Linked DNA regions of Homo sapiens: region 2 is linked to region 1. The links are contacts of gene promoters, found by promoter capture Hi-C in blood cells and fetal thymus (Javierre and others, 2016). All regions are on one chromosome and are shown on one strand. The core of a region is centred on a gene start or on the middle of the fragment in contact, and the rest is flanking DNA. Distances in the headings are between cores, read along the strand shown. Region 1 holds the start of TSPAN11 (tetraspanin 11). Region 2 overlaps TMTC1 (transmembrane O-mannosyltransferase targeting cadherins 1).

Region 1 (2,801 bases), core at 162-2,661:
GTCCTGACACCCCGCACAGTCCTGACCTTCCCTTATGGTTTCTCCTGATAGTTTCCGTTCCTTTCATGGGCTCCTTCTCGGTAGACCTAGATTCTGTCTTCAGCCCTGTTCTCTGTACCTTTTCTACCCTCTCCCTCCACCTCTTGTGTCGGCCCAACTTCTTTCCAGATGATTCCAAAATTGACATCCCTTGCCTCAGTCTCTCCTATGAACTCCAGAATCACCCTTCCAATTGCATTTGCTGGATATCTGCCCCTGGAAGAAGGTGGCCTGCTTCTCCAATCCAACTTGCTCCACACTAAACTCAGTCACATCACTCCAGGTTCTCCTCCAGACTTCCACAATGTTACAGCCCCAGTGTGCTCCTCCTACACCACACAGTCTGTAGACTCTCCTTTGCTGCAGCTTCCGCATTCATCCCCCAGTTAAGGTCCTCATCTCACGGGACTATTGGAATCATCTCCTTCCTGTGTGGCCCCCCGCGAAGCCCTTCTCAGCAGCCAGCTGGGGTATTTAGAACGTTGGTGCTCCCGGTACAGTGGCTTTGTCAGCGTCCCCTGCCTCCAGTGGCTTCCCTGATCTAGCAACCTGGTAAATGGGTAATCTTCCTCACTGCAGCTAAGTTTCAAAAGAACACGGTTGGATAAGCACAAGGCCCTTGTTACTTTGGGAAATAGATAATCCATGCCCCACTGTTAGGGCCAGTCCCGTTAGGGCCAGCTTTGCACCTTCACAGGGACTCAGCAGGAACAGATGGGCTCTACTCTCTGTTATTCCTTTTTGCTTCAGATTAGAGAGACCTTGATTCTCCCCGGGGCCCAGGAAATGTAAAGCTGATGCTCCACAGGACTCTAAGAGGGACACGGCAGTGATGGGGGCTGGTGAGGAAGGGGGATGGAGAACCTCTCTCTTATCAGACAGGCTTGTCCCTAGGGTCCCTGGAAACCCCCAAAGGCCAACCTCTCCCAGGGGCCGACAAACGTAAAGGGCAGGGAGACCTAAGCGGGGAGCTGCGGAGCGCGGGGAGTTTGAAAGCCGCTCCACCGCCCTACTAGTCCGTCCTTTTGCCCCGCCCCCCTTAGGGATCCCCCCGGCAACCGCACAGCTGCCTCGGACTCTGACTTAATTCCCTCCGCGTGCTCTGAATCGCAGAGAGGCAAACCCCCAAACAAAGAGCCGGCAGCTCGCGTGCGGGGCTCCCGGGCGCGTCCTGCCGGCTGGGCTGGGAGAGCCGGCGCCGGGGCGTCGCGGCCGAGCGCTGGGCAGGCGGGGACTAGAGGGCCGGCAGGAAGCCTCAGTGGGCGCAGGGGCGCGGGCCGGGCTGCCCACACGCTGACCTTCCCGGGCTGGGAGGGAGGAGCGCTGGCTGCGGGCGGTGGGCGGCTGGGCGGCCCCGGGAGCCGCCGCTCTCAGTCTCTCTAGGCGCAGCTCCCTTCGCCGCTTCCGGAGCCCCTGGCAGGGTAAGTGCAGAAGCGCGCCCGAGGAGTGGGGGCGCCGCGGGAGGGGGCTGGGGGTCCAGGAGAGGCGCCTCCACCTCCGCTGCCCGCCCCGCCGGCAGTCCCGAGCTAGACTGTCCCGAGCTTCCCCCGGGCGGGCAGAGGGAAGCCGGCTGGGGATGAGGAGTGGAGGAGGCAGGAATGCCTGGGACACTCGCGGGGCATGTGAGCAGGTATTGGTGTCTGCATGGGACACGCAACACGGTGTCCATAACTATGCGCATGAGTCTGCCTTTCTGCACTTGTGCCTTGGGAGAGAGCTCTGGGCCTCTGAGGGCCTCGTGCCGTCCAGCGTGCCCGGGGCATGTCTGTTCCTCTTGAAAATGTCATTCTTTGTCCACCCTGAATTCGAGTAGCTGCCTCTCATGGCTACACCAAAATGCTGTATCTGGTGCACATTGCTTTCAGAGGGCCTGTCTGCCTGTGCAGGGATGTCCTCATGTTCTGGGCACGTCTGTGTATTTGTGACAACATGGCTGTGTAGGCCCTGTCACCTGTGTTTTCGTGCCCATCCCTGCATGTGCAGTTGGCCGGCTCCGTGTGGAAAGAAGGCATGGAAGGTTCTGGGGTGTATCCTTTTCACCAGCCATATGTGCAGTGTGCACATGTGTGAATTGGTGGAAAGTATGAAAGGGAGGCAGCCCAGTTGGGCTTGGCGGGACAGCATCTTAACTTGAGTCTAAGCTGCTGTGTGCAGGAGGAATAAGTGTTCCAGAGGTCTCCAGTTCGTGGCAAGTATTGTGAGGTGAGCGTGGGGGTGGGGGGTGAGGAGAAGAGGCAGCTTCTGGAAAAACTCATAAGTGCACTCTGGGGCATAGGGTGTGTGTGGGGGAGCGTGAAGAAGAGAATGAGGGTGGTATTAGGCCAAAGTGGATAGTCTGTGTTCAATTTGTGGGCAGCTGGATTGCAGTGGAAAGCAGCAGTTAGAGGCTGGAGACAGGTTTGAATCAGAACTTAATGGTTGTCACTGTGTCAGTAGCATTGTTCCCTGGACAGATAGGTCATCTGGGGCTCAGTTGCTTTTTGTGCAAAATGGGACTAATAACCACTGGCCCCATCTGTCTCCCAAGGGACTGGAGGCTCCAATTAATGCCTGGAAATGCTTTGATGATAGTTAAGACTCCTAGGGTAAGGGGCACTACTGGCCTACAGGGGCCAAGTTGGTGGTCTGGCGAGGGCTTAGGTGGCCCAGAGCTGTTTGGTTTGTGGGTAGCAGAGGGAGGCATTTGTGTGCTGTTTCCCACTATATTCAGCATAGCAGGAATTTTATACCCACCTTTGGACTCGTGTGTAAAATATGTACAG
Region 2 (2,966 bases), core at 209-2,708, 1.3 Mb before region 1:
ACTAACCTTAATGTGCCTCATAGATTCTCAGTAAATGTTTGTTTGACTGACCTGAACATTACTTAGCACAAATGAATTCATAAAAACATCTGTTCTGGCCTTGAAGGAAAAAGAACAGTCTTAATAGTCTTTTAAAGTCTCAGATTCTTAAAAGTTTTCTCAGGACATAGATAAATGATAATAGGCAAAGATTTCTAGAAAATATCAATAGCTTTGATTTACACATTACACAAAATTTGATTGGACCACCAAAGGCCTCTTTAGTTGCAAAATCTCTTTAAGCACGAATGTGGAATGGTTGTGTTTTAGAAATCAATTGATGTGAAGATACTACATACTTCCATCTAAAACAATAGAAGCTTCTGGATGCAAGGCCAATCAGCTATTTTTTTTTCTTTTTTTTTTACATCTTTGGCATCAGCTGTAAAGGGTTTGAGTACTAAGTCTGCCAAAATCCATTCCCAAAGTTGCTCTGATTAAGCAGTCAACATCATTAGAAAATACAACCACTGTTAGTACCTTTATTCAGGCAAAAGGTTTAGCACAGGGCAGAACTGTTTCTAAAGATGCTCGTAAAAGCTCTGACTAGTGAAAGAGAAAGGAAGAAAAAACTATGCCAACAGAGACTCGGAGGAAGTTATATTACTGAACTTAAATACTCCTGTGTTTACCGAATGACCTTAGTTAGCATGAGGCAGAAGGAAGGAATGAGTCTGTTGTGGTCTGTGAGAATCGTGTTTAATAGAAAGGGGTATGACAGGGACTTAACAGAATCTAAGAGTGATTTTGCAGATCTGTGTGGAAAAAAAAAGATGCATTAAAAACAATCCACACAAAAAACTCTACATTGAGCTCCCTACAGTACCCGCTGAAATGATCATAATGACGATCATGACAATGATATGTAATACGTAATAATACATAAATAAAGTAATAGGACATGCATGCCAGACTGACTTTTTGTTTTATATTTTAAAAAATGTCAAATTGCCAAGTAAAATCAAACACATTATTTTAAAATAGTAGAAGAGTGCAGTGAACCTTTGTCTTATTTGTTCTTTCACTCATTCATTCATATTTGGCAGCCCAGAGATTATTCCCCCTTCTTACAGTGCTTGGATTTCCTGCTGGGAACTTCCCTCTTGCCTCACTTTGAGAAGTCTGGGTGGAACCCCAAGGGGCTCTGCCTGCCCTAGCTCCCTCCATGGAACTCAGAGGAGGCTTCTTGGTCAGATCAGTCCTCTCAGTGCCTTGCTAGGGACAAGGGGCAGGCATGTGACTAATCTTAAGTTCAGCCAAAAAGCTTTCTTTTCCTAAGACTTTGATGTGTACATCCAAAAACCTGGTGTTAAGTTTACCTGTTTGTTTCTGAGAGGGTGCTCAAGACGGATTTTCCAGATGCCTGTTTCCTGTCTTGGGTGTGCCGGGTTCTTCACTTCCCTTAATTCTGTATGCCTTCCTAGCCTCTTCCAACAGTTTCCCCTTTCCTTAAGTGATATTAGCTCTGCTTCAATTGTTTGCCCCCAAAGAATAAGTGTTGGGTACCAGCTAATCAGGAAACCAAGAAAAAAATCATGGTGACTAAATTGACCAATCAGGTCATAAGTGAGGACAGAAGCTTGGAAGAGGCCCAGACTGGGGATTCCTGGAAGACTGGGCAAATATTGTTTGGGTGTCAGGTGTGGCAGTGCCAAGAGAGCCAGGCGAAGGTCGCCAGGGCTGCGGCATTTAGTGAGGCTGACTAAGCCCCAGAAACACAGCATCATGAATGGCAGTCTCAAAGAATGTTCAAAATTAATGTTCAAAATAAAGCAACTAGGTCACAGATCACAGCGTATCATGCTGGAATATTCTAAAGAAGGATACTGCATTTCTCTTCCCTCTGGCTGTGTGCTCACTTTTCACATGCACTTCTTGGTTTCATTTTGTTTATAGCTGATTTTACAGCCCTGCTCATCATTAAAACTGTTTCCATCTGAATTCACAGACTCAAAAACTTTCCCAGGAGCCTTATTTTCATAAATTCACTTAGAAAGAGCTCATGTTAAGTTTTATATATCATTTTAAAAATCTAAAGTTAAAACCCCACATAAAATTACATCTTCCATTTAAAACTTTATTAAAGATAATTTTCCTTAGTAAATACTGCCAGGCCCATGTTACCTCATTTGTTTGGAAACAATTTGTAAGCAAAGAAATAAACAGGAAGATATTTATTTTTATCTGTCTAGTCATACCTGAATAGGGACTCTCTTGACAGCCAAATTTCATTCTGTTTCACAGTTTTCCAAGAGAAAAGCAACAGCAGCAACACAGTGGACACAATCAGGGTGGTGGCCCCACATCGATTCAGCCAAGTGCAGAGCTTGCTCAGTCCATGCACAAAAAGGATGCAGTAGCCCATGCTGGAAAACAGGGTGGAAGGAACGGGATTACTTTGGGGGTGCAATAGCTTCCCCCCAGAATTATCTCCTACAAAACTAACTTTCAAATGAAGCTTGTCCTGTGCTAGAGAAACAAATAGAAACTCCCCTGCCTTGGACAATATTAACATGTTAGTTCTCTAAAGTGCTGCACTAGCAGGTTTGCTATTTCTTGTAGAAATATTTCTTGCTATTTCTTCAGTGTAGGGAATGAGAGAGTCATCTTGTAGGCTTAAAGTGCCCTGGATTTCAGCAGCTGAGGCATCATGAGAAGTCCCACATATAAGCTCTTGGGTCCTGAATGGCTCCTCTGACCCAAGCTCCCTCATGTCACTGTCATTGTATGACTCTATTGGCACTATGCGCCTAAATTCGGAGTTTATGCTGCAGCAGGTCACACCACAGCTTTGTAGGGAGAGTGTCTGAAAGCTCTGTGTCAGGTCCTGGAAGGATGCTGGTCACCAAGGAGGACTGTTCTCTGTTTCCAGGGCCAGCTGAAGCCCTTACACTTTGGAAAATCTACCCACAGGCCGACTCCTGAGC

What was found. The method cuts DNA at HindIII sites, captures the fragments that hold promoters and counts their contacts. A CHiCAGO score of 5 or more calls a contact.
Region 2: a contact is called between a fragment that was not itself captured here and the fragment with the promoter of TSPAN11 in region 1, in 4 of 17 cell types (naive CD8 T cells, naive B cells, activated CD4 T cells and 1 more). The highest score is 8.8, in naive CD8 T cells.

What each region holds. Positions count from the first base shown.
Region 1 is chr12:30,925,337-30,928,137 of GRCh38, forward strand. It overlaps TSPAN11 (tetraspanin 11), which reads left to right and starts at 1,412. Exons shown (of 8, transcript NM_001370302.1): 1 at 1,412-1,460. LOC124902911 (a long non-coding RNA gene) reads right to left here and starts at 1,353. Exons shown (of 2, transcript XR_007063264.1): 1 at 1-1,353. The HindIII fragment of the contact is 3,619 bases long and covers 1-2,801 here.
Region 2 is chr12:29,581,170-29,584,135 of GRCh38, forward strand. TMTC1 (transmembrane O-mannosyltransferase targeting cadherins 1) reads right to left here. Exons shown (of 18, transcript NM_001193451.2): 8 at 2,238-2,405. Among named protein-coding and RNA genes, the nearest start is that of OVCH1, 85 kb to the left of the region's middle. The HindIII fragment of the contact is 315 bases long and covers 1,302-1,616 here.